4 separate regions of the Homo sapiens genome follow, and all the other regions are linked to region 1. Evidence: promoter capture Hi-C in 16 types of primary human blood cells and fetal thymus (Javierre and others, 2016). All regions are on one chromosome and are shown on one strand. The core of a region is centred on a gene start or on the middle of the fragment in contact, and the rest is flanking DNA. Distances in the headings are between cores, read along the strand shown. Region 1 holds the start of LRRC40 (leucine rich repeat containing 40). Region 2 overlaps ZRANB2-DT (ZRANB2 divergent transcript). Region 3 overlaps ZRANB2 (zinc finger RANBP2-type containing 2). Region 4 holds the start of LOC105378795 (a long non-coding RNA gene).

Evidence for each region. Contacts are between HindIII fragments. The CHiCAGO score rates a contact against its expected background, and 5 or more counts as called.
Region 2: a fragment that was not itself captured here is called in contact with the fragment with the promoter of LRRC40 in region 1 in 1 of 17 cell types (total CD4 T cells); the score reaches 5.0 in total CD4 T cells.
Region 3: a fragment that was not itself captured here is called in contact with the fragment with the promoter of LRRC40 in region 1 in 14 of 17 cell types (total CD8 T cells, naive CD8 T cells, activated CD4 T cells and 11 more); the score reaches 33.6 in total CD8 T cells.
Region 4: a contact is called between a fragment that was not itself captured here and the fragment with the promoter of LRRC40 in region 1, in 10 of 17 cell types (total CD8 T cells, naive CD8 T cells, naive B cells and 7 more). The highest score is 23.1, in total CD8 T cells.

The regions. Positions count from the first base shown.
Region 1 is chr1:70,204,096-70,207,120 of GRCh38, reverse strand. It overlaps LRRC40 (leucine rich repeat containing 40), which reads left to right and starts at 1,542. Exons shown (of 15, transcript NM_017768.5): 1 at 1,542-1,731. The coding sequence starts at 1,581. It also overlaps a transcript of SRSF11 not described here. RefSeq lists enhancers at 1,319-1,628, 1,889-1,948. The HindIII fragment of the contact is 8,465 bases long and covers 1-3,025 here.
Region 2 is chr1:71,104,467-71,107,731 of GRCh38, reverse strand. All of the region lies in intron 2 of ZRANB2-DT (ZRANB2 divergent transcript), which reads right to left. Among named protein-coding and RNA genes, the nearest start is that of ZRANB2-DT, 25 kb to the right of the region's middle. The HindIII fragment of the contact is 3,922 bases long and covers 1-3,265 here.
Region 3 is chr1:71,070,180-71,073,075 of GRCh38, reverse strand. ZRANB2 (zinc finger RANBP2-type containing 2) reads left to right here. Exons shown (of 10, transcript NM_203350.3): 5 at 528-604; 6 at 821-955; 7 at 2,080-2,249. Among named protein-coding and RNA genes, the nearest start is that of MIR186, 3.9 kb to the right of the region's middle. The HindIII fragment of the contact is 3,187 bases long and covers 1-2,896 here.
Region 4 is chr1:71,086,884-71,089,921 of GRCh38, reverse strand. The region is part of intron 1 of ZRANB2-DT (ZRANB2 divergent transcript); the gene reads right to left. It overlaps LOC105378795 (a long non-coding RNA gene), which reads left to right and starts at 966. Exons shown (of 3, transcript XR_001737669.2): 1 at 966-1,114; 2 at 2,838-2,978. The HindIII fragment of the contact is 2,012 bases long and covers 379-2,390 here.

The DNA of each region.
Region 1 (3,025 bases), core at 293-2,792:
TGGGAGTTCGAGACCAGCCTGACCAACATGGCGAAACTCCGTCTCTACTAAAAAATATAAAAATTAGCCAGGTGTGGTGGTGCGCGGCTATAATCCCAGCTACTGGAGAGGCTGAGGCAGGAGAATCACTTGAACCTGGGAGGCGGAGGTTGCAGTGAGCCGGGATCACGCCACTGCATTCCAGCCTAGGCGACAGACCAGACTTTGTCTCAAAAAAAAAAAAAAAAAAAAGACAAAAATCCACTCTTTGCTTTTTTAGTAGGGTAACAACTATTGGTAACTTTCTCTTGTTCGATATTAGTGTAAAGGACTCCACAGAAATAAGAACAAAAAGGGTAGAGTTAAAAACCGAATTTTACAGGTAGCAATAACCTGGACTCAGGTAAAAGTGCGTGATGAAGAATTGATCAAAGGGCCTTCATCCTAGCTTTCAACTATTCTACCAATCCTCAGTAGACTTGATGGGGGTTAGAATGGTATTCCCTGGCATATGCTTTTAAAACAAAATCATTTCAGGCAAAAGAAAAGTCTAGCACCCAGGATAGTACACATACTAGGCAGGATTAATCTTAATAATTACTTGTTGAATCAAGAAGTTGTACATTTCAGATGAAAATTTTAATTTCCTAGGAAACACCGACTTACATTGAACAAAATTTTCATTTGCTATTATTCTGGACTCACCGAGAGCTCAAGATTCTAGTTTTTATCTTCACTTATTTCAAAAACCTTATGCGGTAGGAATTATCCCCAAAGTAATGAAAAAAAGGAATGAGCTTTAAAAGCGGTTGAGTAAACTGCCTAAAGTTAACAGTTTCTAAAGTAAAGAAGCAGCTGAGATTTGAACTTGCTTTTTAGGGCTCAAAAATCCAAGCTGTCTGAGCTTCACTAAAGCATGTACCACTACTTGTCTCCCTAAACTGTCTGATACACAGAACATTTATTAAATTTTAAGGATTTTTGTTTTTGTCTTCTATGTTGCCAGTCCTTCCATTTCACATTACCTCCTTTGCTGGGTAAGCTATATACCCTCAATACAACGAGAATGGTGTCAGAGTACAAGCCTTAAGAACAGAAAATTTCTTTTACTCCGTACGCCAGAGGTCTGGCGCCACCACCACAAGCGACAAACACAGGCTGGGGTCCAGAAACGCTGCCGACCGCGCCCAGATCTCAAGTTTTAGTCAAGGCCCACGTTCAGACTAGGAGAGGGGAGAAGAGAGGGTTCTCTTTCCCCACACCCTCGCCACGGTGGAAGCACAGAGGAGAAGGTTGGAGTCGCAGTAACAGTGCAAACAATAAACCCGAAAGCCCCTCTTAAGCCCGTTAAACGCACTTACTTGATTGAAGTAATTCCAGGACGCTAGGCCGGCACCGGCAACGGAAAAGGCTTCTCTGTCCTCCAGCCCAGGCGCTGGTGCTGACGACATCTGGACTGCGCCGCAGAGAGTGAAGGCCCAGCGCGAGGCCGCGAGCCCAGCGCCCAGAGCGCGCGCTCACGAAAGGAGCGGGGCATCCCAACGGCGCCACCTTTAAGCGTCACGGGTGGGGCTGCAGCTTCTGGACCTAGGACTTTGAACATGTCGCGCCTGAAGCGGATAGCGGGGCAGGATCTCCGCGCTGGTTTCAAAGCAGGTGGAAGAGACTGCGGTACCTCGGTACCCCAAGGGCTGTTGAAGGCAGCGAGGAAGAGCGGCCAGTTAAACCTGTCGGGTAGAAACCTCAGTGAAGGTAAGACCCAGAGGTACGACCCTATTGTGTCTCCTGTCAGAAAGCCTTTGGCCCAGGCAACCTCCCTTTTCTCTGGGCTGGCTTTGGCCCCCTTTCTCAGACTGCTAGCCAGAATTTCTGTGCTCTAATCTAATCCCTGTGCTCATTTCGACCGGTTTGGTTAGCCCAGTTCAGTTCCTTCCCAGGTTCCCGCAATCTCTGTTAAAGGGACCCTGCTAAAAATACGGTCTAAATTTAAACGGGGCGCTTTCTGGGATTCCCACATTCTGTGGGATAAGCAACATAATATGTGACGAAACCAGCTATCAAATCACGGGCAAATCTTTTGTTTCTTTGGCCCTTATTTTCCTCCTCTTATTGTAATCTTCAAGGGCAATTACCAAAGCTAAAATTATATGTTTTATCGGCCCCTTTGTGAACCTGCACTGTTCCCTGCCGAGACGCTCTTCTGTATGCAGCTGTGCAGAGTTCTACTTACAAGGAATAATGAGTATATTTTCTAAGTTGAAGATCAGGATAGATGCCACACAGAGTGTTTGAATGTGGGGACATCCTGAGAAACCTGTTAAAGACCAAGAAGCACAAATCTGGGTACCATGAATGAATGGCCAGATGCTCTTCTGATTGTCGTGTGTGTGTGTGTGTGTGTGTGTGTGTAAGAGAGAGAGGGAGGGGAATGGAGAGATGGAGAAATAGAGCATTTTTCCTGTAATGTTTTTCTTCATTTATATTTAGGTTTTAAGACTGATTAAAACCTTCCATTTTCCTTCTAATGATTGCTTTCTTATTGTGACATGTATAAAGTAGATTAGGCAAGCAAATGCTTCTGAATGAATGAAAAGACACAGAATCCTTACTCCACCTAAAAGAGTTTTTGATCAATGGGAACATACTCATTTTCAAACTACAGTTGTGCATATATATATATCTACTTGGTTTCCCCAAAACCTGAAACATTTTTCTCTAAACTTGCATACCTATCATGCTAACATTCTGTTCTCTTACCTGTTTAATTTTTTAACAGCATTTATCACTATCAGAATTTATATCATTTATGTTTTTTGTTTTCTCTGCCCTCCAACCAAAAGGTTAATATCATGAAGTCAGTGAGCTTTGTTTTGTGCTTTGTTGTATTTCTATCACTGAAAATAGTGCTTGGTACATAGTAGAGTCTTATTAAATTTTGCGGAAGCAATAAGTAAGTGAATGAGTATTCTCAAATCATAAGTGGTGTGCTAGAATGTACTTATTGACTAGACTCAGGTGGTTTCGTCTGTTAAACTTTAAGAGAGCA
Region 2 (3,265 bases), core at 262-2,761, 900 kb before region 1:
CAAAAAAAAAAATAAAAAGTTATTTTTGTTAGTTGAAAGGAAGAATTTCTGAACATTTTCATATCCTGTTCACCTATACAGTTATTTTTATTGTACATTGTACATGTAATTGTGAGGCAATTGAGTAGCAAAATGAAAGAAGAAAACCTTGTTTCATTAAACCTGGCAGAAAATTGGTATGGCTGAATTTTATTATCATGCCTAAGACTAATTAATTAGAACTGAGATTTCTGGTATTGCCTAGAACTATTTTTACATACACAAAGGAACATGCCTAGAGTGTAATTAGAAATCTCTTTATTATGACACTTTTGAGGAATATGAGGGATATGGAAATATAGAGATAAATGCTTGTCCATTTCTTTTAAAGATTATTAGTGATATTTACTGAATATAAGACATCGATATCTAGATATGTATTCCTTGCTCTTTTGAATGACTCAGTGCCCCGCCAAAAGCAAGCTGGTACGCCCAGCCTCAAATAATCTTAATGATATTATTTACTCCAAGGCTCATCGTTGATGCCTGTCACAGGGTAGATGCTCAATGTCTGTTTGTTGAATTATTGAATGAATGAAAGAACTGGAATTTATCCAGTTAGTGAGTCAGTCAGGAAGACTTTTCCACTTTCAGAAATGTTCTATTAAAGTACAAATGTACATTGTACAGTGTTCCCAAAAGTCAGCTCATATTTTTGACTGCATCAGTGTTACTCGGAGTGTGTTGTAAATTTAACTTCCTGTACCCCACCTCATACTACTACTGCTAAATACTTTAAGCAACATGAGGTCTAAGAATCTTCATTTCTAACAGTCTCCCCAGTTGACTGGCATGCACAGTATTGACAGGAAGCTGGAGAATCAGTTTGGAAACAACAAAAACTAGGGCAGATTCATTCAGAGAATGAGAAAACAGGAAAGACGGTCAGAGGCTCAGGGGGAAAATAGTCTGGTCAGGGCACCAACCACTGCTGGAAATGAAACAATGCTGAACGTTTGTTTCACCGTGTTCAAGATTCAAATTTGAGAAAAGGACTGACTACAGGACTACCCGGGGTCAGGTTGGTACCTTTGTTTAGGGTGAGGTAAGGGCCATCATTAATAGTTTCACTAGACTGTATCAGATTAAGAAGACATTTTTCTACAAACATAAACCAAAATGCTGGTAGAAATTAGGAATGTTTTCTAGGAAGCCAAAAATAAAAATTACAGACATAAGGCTATACACAATGAAATGGAGTGCCTCATAAAGCAGCATGTGTACTGTCAACACAGAACTTAATACCAGACTTTCGCTCAACTTGAACAATATAGAAAGAATTCCTGCCTCAAGTGCCATTGGATAACCTTGAAATTTGTCTCCCATTGAGAGTCTGTTCCTCTGTATTACTAATTGAATCCCAAAATCATCCAATTCAGCATTTAAAAATCAATCAAACATTGTTTGAAATCCTTTAGAAAAACTAAATAATTGATTATGATGGTGACTTTTTTGCTTTTACACATTTTAATTGTGTCTAATGATAGAATACTAGGTAATGTTTATCGTAGGAAAGAATAATGAATCGTAATCTGCTCAGCTCTTGGCCCTTCTAGCCAACCAACTCCTTTCACTCATATGCCCACTGTTCCCTAAAGAAAAACCTCAGTTATCTGATCCTCTACCATTGTCAAATTAGGACATTGTCAAAGAACCACCTATTCACTCCCGAAAGGCTTTTGCTCTTTTCATATCTTATTTCTTTGCTAAAAGTTTTTTGGCTTAATTTTTGGCCCAGAAAATCTAATGTTCTTTCTTTCCTCTGACAGATTTCTTCTTTCTTTCTTCTGACAGATTTGCCAATCCCTTTGGCTCACTGCATTCCCATGGTCCTGGGTAAGAACTGCATACTCTTCACCATCCTGGAACCTAATTAATAACCCCTTCTCAACTTGGTTCATGTTGGCCAGATCATTCTCCAACTCCCATTTAAGCAAGAAAGTTTAATTAAATATGTGACATATTTAAATAAGTATGTGACATGGTTGAATATGGAGAGGCCCACTATTTAGCCAGGAAGTAAACTTTGACAAAACATCCAAGTAATTCAGTAACTTCATAGTCACATCATTTTTCAGGGATTTAAATGTATATGTGTTTGGCTTTTCTGATTCATGTCATTACTCTTTCAATGATAGAATGGACATGGTACATTGCGCTGAGAGGAATACCTCATTACCTTTCACGTTCTCTGAATTGCACAGTGTTGCCTAAAAATATCTTTTCACCAGAAGAGCCTAGAACAGCACTCAAAAGAGAGCCGTGTTTGCCCTTACACTGATCTTAGTCAGTAGACACCAATGGATTATTGAGCTGCATGCTGCTCATAAATCAACACATATTATGCTTATATTGTCCTGCATTTTAGTCTTTCATCTATGTACTAAGGGACATTTAATGTTAAACTAATGTAAGAATTGTCTTTTATCTGTATGGTTTGTTTCGGATTATTTTCTTTAGTATATTTACCAATGACCAACCTCTTCAAAACTTCATACATACTGATGATCTATGTAACGTATCCAGGGAAATAATTTTATTTCTCTCAAGAAAAAAGTTACATATTCAATGAATCAATATTCAGACTATGATGAAAATCAACTTTTTGACAACATAATCATGCTGTAGTTGAAGATTTTATTGGTGCCACAAAGAAGTCAATTCTAAAATAGATCTGTAATAGAAGCTCACTGGCTATTCACCTGAACTCTGTTCACATAGGAGGTAATATTGGTTCAAGTATTATTAAAGCACATGAAAAGATAAAAAGTAAGCCTTATGACATAAAATTAATTCCAGAAAATTGACTAGTTCTAGGTGATACATTAACCTGATAATTTTGAGAATTTCAGTTGTTGTCTAATGCTAAGGTATATGAACTCGATAGACATATAATTCTTACGTGGCAAGAATATAGCTCCTAATTAACATTTGAGGGATAACAGGAAATTCTACACCAGATACCAAAGGGATAACAGGAAAATCTACACCAGATACAGATAAGCAGGATGGAGGCACTAGCTAATAGCGCTGAACCTAGGATTAGAAGATCAGATTTGATCTTACACAAACCAGTGACTGTGATACTACATATGTCTTTGAGCCCACATTTCTTGATCTTTAAAATGAAAGCAAAAACACCTCTTTTACAGGGTGGTGGAGACAGTAATGGGAAATAATAGATGTAGAAATGCTTTGTAAATTCTAAAGTGGTCTAGAAATATAA
Region 3 (2,896 bases), core at 184-2,683, 870 kb before region 1:
AAACCAGGGCCAAAGGATGGCCTTTATTGTGTTATTGTGTTTGTCTGTGTAATTAGGAATTTTCCAAGCTCTAATAAGGCCTGCTACATTTTAAAGTAGCAAAATTTCAGAATATCAGAAGATTTCAGACTATTTGCAGTTGGTAAACAGTGGAATTTAATGCTTGGTTGTTACTGAGCCCACCCTTCCCAGAAGAATTACGATTAACTGTAGAGGAAAGTCCTTTAAAACTTGGTTATAGCAGAAGTTTGAGATGTTTTCCACCAATACTTTCTATGAATTAAATAAGTCATGTAGGGCAATTTGGAATTGAAAAGAGCTAGAAGTACAGCCATATGACGTTACAACTAAGTTCTCTGTATTTTCTGTGGTGATTTCTAATATGCTTTCTAAAGACTAGTAATTTATTAGATGGGTAGGCAGCCATTGTTGATTAGATGTTTTTTGTTGTCTGGAGATTTGGGCATGATGTGTTTATTATTTAAATCAATTGTCATAGGGTAACAATTTGTGCCCTCTTTTTTAAGGATATGGTGGTGGTTTTAATGAAAGAGAAAATGTTGAATATATAGAAAGAGAAGAATCTGATGGTGAATATGATGAGGTAAGCTATATTTTGGTGTTCAGGTTGAATATAAATTAGAAAAACAGAAAAAATTCTTAAATGCAAAGGAAAACAAACTTTTTTTTAAGTGCAATTTGAGTCTTCAGCAACTGATCATTTTCAGGAAATCATAAATATCTAAAATAATTTTTTAGAAAATGTATTAAGTTTAATGCATTATCAGCTGACAAGCATTTTGAAATTGTTTTTCTCTAGTTTGGACGTAAAAAGAAAAAATACAGAGGGAAAGCAGTTGGTCCTGCATCTATATTAAAGGAAGTTGAAGATAAAGAATCAGAGGGAGAAGAAGAGGATGAGGATGAAGATCTTTCTAAATATAAGTTAGATGAGGTGAACAATTTTCTTGTCCTATTTCCCTTTTGTCTTATTGGAGTTATACCATAACATGAATGCTTTTGACAGCCTCAGACACTTGGTGAAAATATATTCTGTGTTTTCATTTGTTCTCACAAAGGTTTTGGATTTCCACTCTGCCAAGTACTATTTGTACTTGGAACACTACTGTTCTGGAGATACAGTGGTGACCGAAACAGAACCAGTTTTCTCTTACACAGTTCTAGAGGAGGAAATATATAAATAGGTAATTTTGATAGCAGTAACGTTATGAAGACACATGATGTGATAACAGTTTAAAAGCAACTTTGGTTTTGCCGATGGATAATGTCTAAGGAGGTGAAGTTTGAGCTGAAACTTGAATGATAGGAAGGAGCCAGCAATAAGAGCCGAGGTGAGAGCACATTTAGGCAGAGAACAGCAAATACGGGTTCCCTAAATAGGAGATAAGCCAGCAGCCTTCAAAAATACCATACATAGGCCAGTATAGTTAGAGCAGAGGGGAGAATGAGATGAGGGGGACAGCACACATTTCAGGTCTGGTGATACTTGTTCTGTCAGGCCAGAGTGTAAGTTTTATGCCATGTTAAGGGTACCTTAGAGCCTGATCATAAGAGGTCTTGGAATGCAACTAAAGAAATAATAAGCCAGTTTTGAAGTTTTTAAGAAAAAAGTGAGATGTGTTTATCTGTCCTGTGTTTCAGAGTGATGACTGTCAGTATATTGAGATACTAGAGAGGCAGAATGGATCTTCAGATTTGAGGAGACCAGCTAAGAGGTTACTATAATATGCTAGAGAATAAGGAACAGAGTGTCTAAGACTAAAAATGGTGATTTCAAGGACTTTTAAGGAGGTGGACTTGAAAATTCTTGGGTGATGCATAAGTGTGACAGAAAAAGTGTGTATGGCCTCCAGGTTTATGTCTGTGCAATACCTGAGACAAAGTTGTCAAGTCTCTATTTGAGATGAGTTTAGTAGGTGAATTTTAGAATTCAGAATTAATTTGCTGAGATACCTGTGATATATGCATATGGAGGTGCTCAGTACACCTAACTGTTTTATCTTTCCTGGTAGGTAACACTAATATCTAAATGTCTAATTATAATTGAATTTTTGTTAGGATGAGGATGAAGATGACGCTGATCTCTCAAAATATAATCTTGATGCCAGTGAAGAAGAAGATAGTAATAAAAAGAAATCTAATAGACGAAGTCGCTCAAAGTCTCGATCTTCACATTCACGATCTTCATCACGCTCATCCTCCCCCTCAAGTTCAAGGTCTAGGTCCAGGTAAACGGGTACAGGTCAAGGGTAACACCAGTCAAAATGTCAGTATCTAACTTTTTTATTTATAAATTTTGTTTTTCTTGACGAAATAAACTTTCCTTTTTATTTTAAAAATTTAATTCAAATCAACTTTTAAAATAATTTTTCAGCTTAGTACCATACAGTTGTTGTCCAGTATTTTTAGAAAAGTAAAGTCTTAGCATGAAACTTCCTTAACCTATTTTAGCCTCATGCTTTTGACTAAAATAGACTTAAAAACTGAATTAAATTTTTATATACACTTATATTTAATTAATCTAAAGAGATAGCTTACATATAGAAATTAAGTAAAGGGGAGATCTGTATTTTCATTCAAGATGTTAAAGGCTAGCACAGAAATTTTCTAGGCATTAAATCATTGCTTATTACATAATGTTTTTAATAGTTTGCTTTGATATCAGTATTGTGAATAACGGAGCAAATTCAGCCATATTAGTTCTGTTGACTTCATGCTCATAATTTTGAGAAGTCCAGGCGTAAACTAAAACTCTTTTGGTGTACTTGAATATTGTTTGTTGATGTAAAATATGTAATCTCTGATTTTATAGTTAACAATAAAAATAAAATTTTAGGTGAGTGAAAGCAGTGATTTAAATTTAACAGTGTCCTCT
Region 4 (3,038 bases), core at 135-2,634, 880 kb before region 1:
TTCTAACATAGCAAATGAATTTCTTTAACAGGCAGGGTACACAAACAACTATCCTACTGACCTGATAATCCAAAAGAACTTTTTATTTGGCCAAGACAACATTTATGTTTAGGTTGAATTTGAAAGGCTTTGAACAGCTCATCACATTTTCCCTCATTCCCTAGTGTTTTACACAGGCCTGCATCATTGATTTATGTTACTGCCTGAACCCTGTAAACATTTGAGTTTTTCTTTCATGGTTTAATACTTGATTTAACTGAAAATCCCTTTATAAGAATGTAAACTTTAGGCAGGGTGCGGTGGCTCACGCCTGTAATCCTAGCACTTTGGGAGGCCAAGATGAGTGCATCGCTTGAGATCAGGAGTTCCAGACAAGCTTGGCCAACGTGGTGAAACCCCATCTCTACTAAAAATACAAAAATTAGCTGGGAGTAGCGGTGCATGCCTATAACCCCAGTTACTCGGGAGGCTGAAGCAGAAGAATCGCTTGACCCCAGGAGGTGGAGAGGTGGAGGTTGCAGTGAGCCGAGATCGTGCCATTGCACTCCAGCCAGACTCCGTCTCAAAAAAAAAAAAAAAAAAGGACACTTTAAACTGTTTTTAGTTATTTACACTAGGATGTAAACAGTTTTTCAACTGTTTTTCACTGTGGGGGATGAGAGTTTTTGAAGAAGGTAAGACTGAAGGAATAACAGGATGGGGACTAGGGTGAGCCAGATGCCTAGGGTTCAACATTTAAGGAGGCGCTCATTCTCAAGTGATAACTCCAGGCTCAGCACCTGAGACTGCCTCCTTAAATGTCATGCCCTGTTTGTGTTATTTGCCTCGCTCTTATCCCAGTCCTTTAAGGATAAAGTTTAACCAGCTTTGGTTTCTGTTACTTGTGATGAAGTATCCTTAATGCATTTCCCTTCCCCACCCATGAACTGAGGGAGTCATTCTTCCTGGGAACACCCATAATATCCTCTGATTATACCTATACTATACTTACAACACAGTTTTCTCACTATTTACACATCCATATGCATCGGCACTCTGTGCGCTCCTTAAACAAAGAGACTGTGACATAATCTTCTTTATAGCTGCAATATCTAGTCCTGTACCTGTTGAGTGGGTAAGTCAATGAATGAATGGACAAATAAATAAATGAGTGTGTTGTCAGAATTGAACATGCCATACCTGCTGTGGCATGGCACAGGTGTGTGAAATCCTTCGTCAGTAAAAACATTTTATTTTTGCTATAGATAGATGGCAAACTTCAACCTGCTTTTATTCTAATTGTGATATGATTTTTCTCATAACTTTGTATGTAGCATTTGAATTGTTCCAGTTTTTTATTTAAACATACGTGCTCAAGAAAGAACTGCAGTAGATTTGTGACTGACACCGTATATATGCTTTTGCCCTCAGTCTCCAGCAGGGCCAGCCTCCTTGACCTAATTAGACTTCTCACTCCCACATGGCTGGTAAATACTATAATTAATTTATAAAGGACTCTGAAACACCAACTGGCAAAAATTCCCTATTAATGGTTTCTACAGAATGAAAAGAGCATTTAAGTTGTAGGAGAGTTGTTGTTGTGTGTGTGTGTGTGTGTGTGTGCGCACATGTATTCACATTTTTTAATGTAGTGAATTTCTAAGAATGTCAAATCATAACACGTACTAAGTAAACAATGTTTAATAACGTCTTGTCATTTCTTTCAGCACATTTATTTTAAATTTGAAAGAAATCTGTGTGACAAAATATTCTTAGAGATGTATATTTGGGGTATGTGAGACTTGAGTGTCCATGAATACTCACACACATCCCATAAACTATGCCATTCTTAAAATAAAGTTAAAGAGAAAAATATAGACCATCAGTTTAAGAAGGATGTCTCAATGATTTGAGAAAGCAACAACTGTAGTGGCCTTTGGAGTATTTGCCTATTCAGAAGCCATGGTTGGCAGAATTTCAAGATGGCTCCCAAGATTTCTGTGTCCTGGTGTACATGCCCTGTATTATACCCTCTCTGTGAGTGTGGGCAGGACCTGTGAATACAATGAGATGGCACTCCTTTGATTAGTTTATGTTATATGGCAAAGGGGACGGAACCATTTCTCCTCTGATTACATTATATTATATAAGACTTTATAGCAGTAATAGTTATAGTAGTAGTATATAGTAGTAATGGTAGTGGCAGCAGCAGCAGCCAACTGGAGAGAAATTCTCCTGCTGGCTTTGGAGAAGTAAACTCCGTTTTGAGATGGCCATGTAATTAGGACCTGAGGGCAGTCTCTAGAAGCTGAGAGAACCCCCTGGCCAACATCTCCCAAGAAAATAGGGACCTCTGATGTAAAGTTTCAGGGAACTAAATTCCACTAACAACCTGAATATGCCTAAAAGCTTCAGATGAAATTGCAGCTCCACTTGGCACCTTGATTGCTGCCTAGTGAAACCCTAAGCAGATAATCCAATTAAGCTATGCCCAGACTTCTCATCCACAGAAACTGAGAGATAACAAATACATGTTACTTTAAGCTTCTAAGGTTGTGGTAATTTGTTACTTGGCACTAGAAAACCAATACAAGAACCAACTGCTTTTTCTTTTCTGTGGGCACTACCCTTTACTCCCCTTGTCCCACAGGAGTGCCTCCTAGCAGTCAGGTCTATACATTACACCATGATCCTGAAAAACTGACATAGCTGATTGGATAGAGGTGCACACCTGACTCAAGCCAGAGCAACTAGAGTCTGGAAATTTGAAGACAGGGCTAAGAGGCTCCAGGTGGGAATTTCTTGAATGGAAGAGAGATAGAAACTTGAACACTTTAGCAACACTATCTTCTGTCCAGGGTTGCCTGTAGATATTAAAAGCCCTGAGGAAATGTTCGAGGAGAGAGAGAATCTATCTATAGCAATCATCTGATTACAAAAATAATTATAAAAGTCATGGACCCATGTGAGATGGAGTGATTTGCTGTTAAAGAGTCAAGGTAAGGAAAAGCTGAAGAGAGTCAAGGTAAGGAAACATAGCTACTTATTGTCCAATCGGT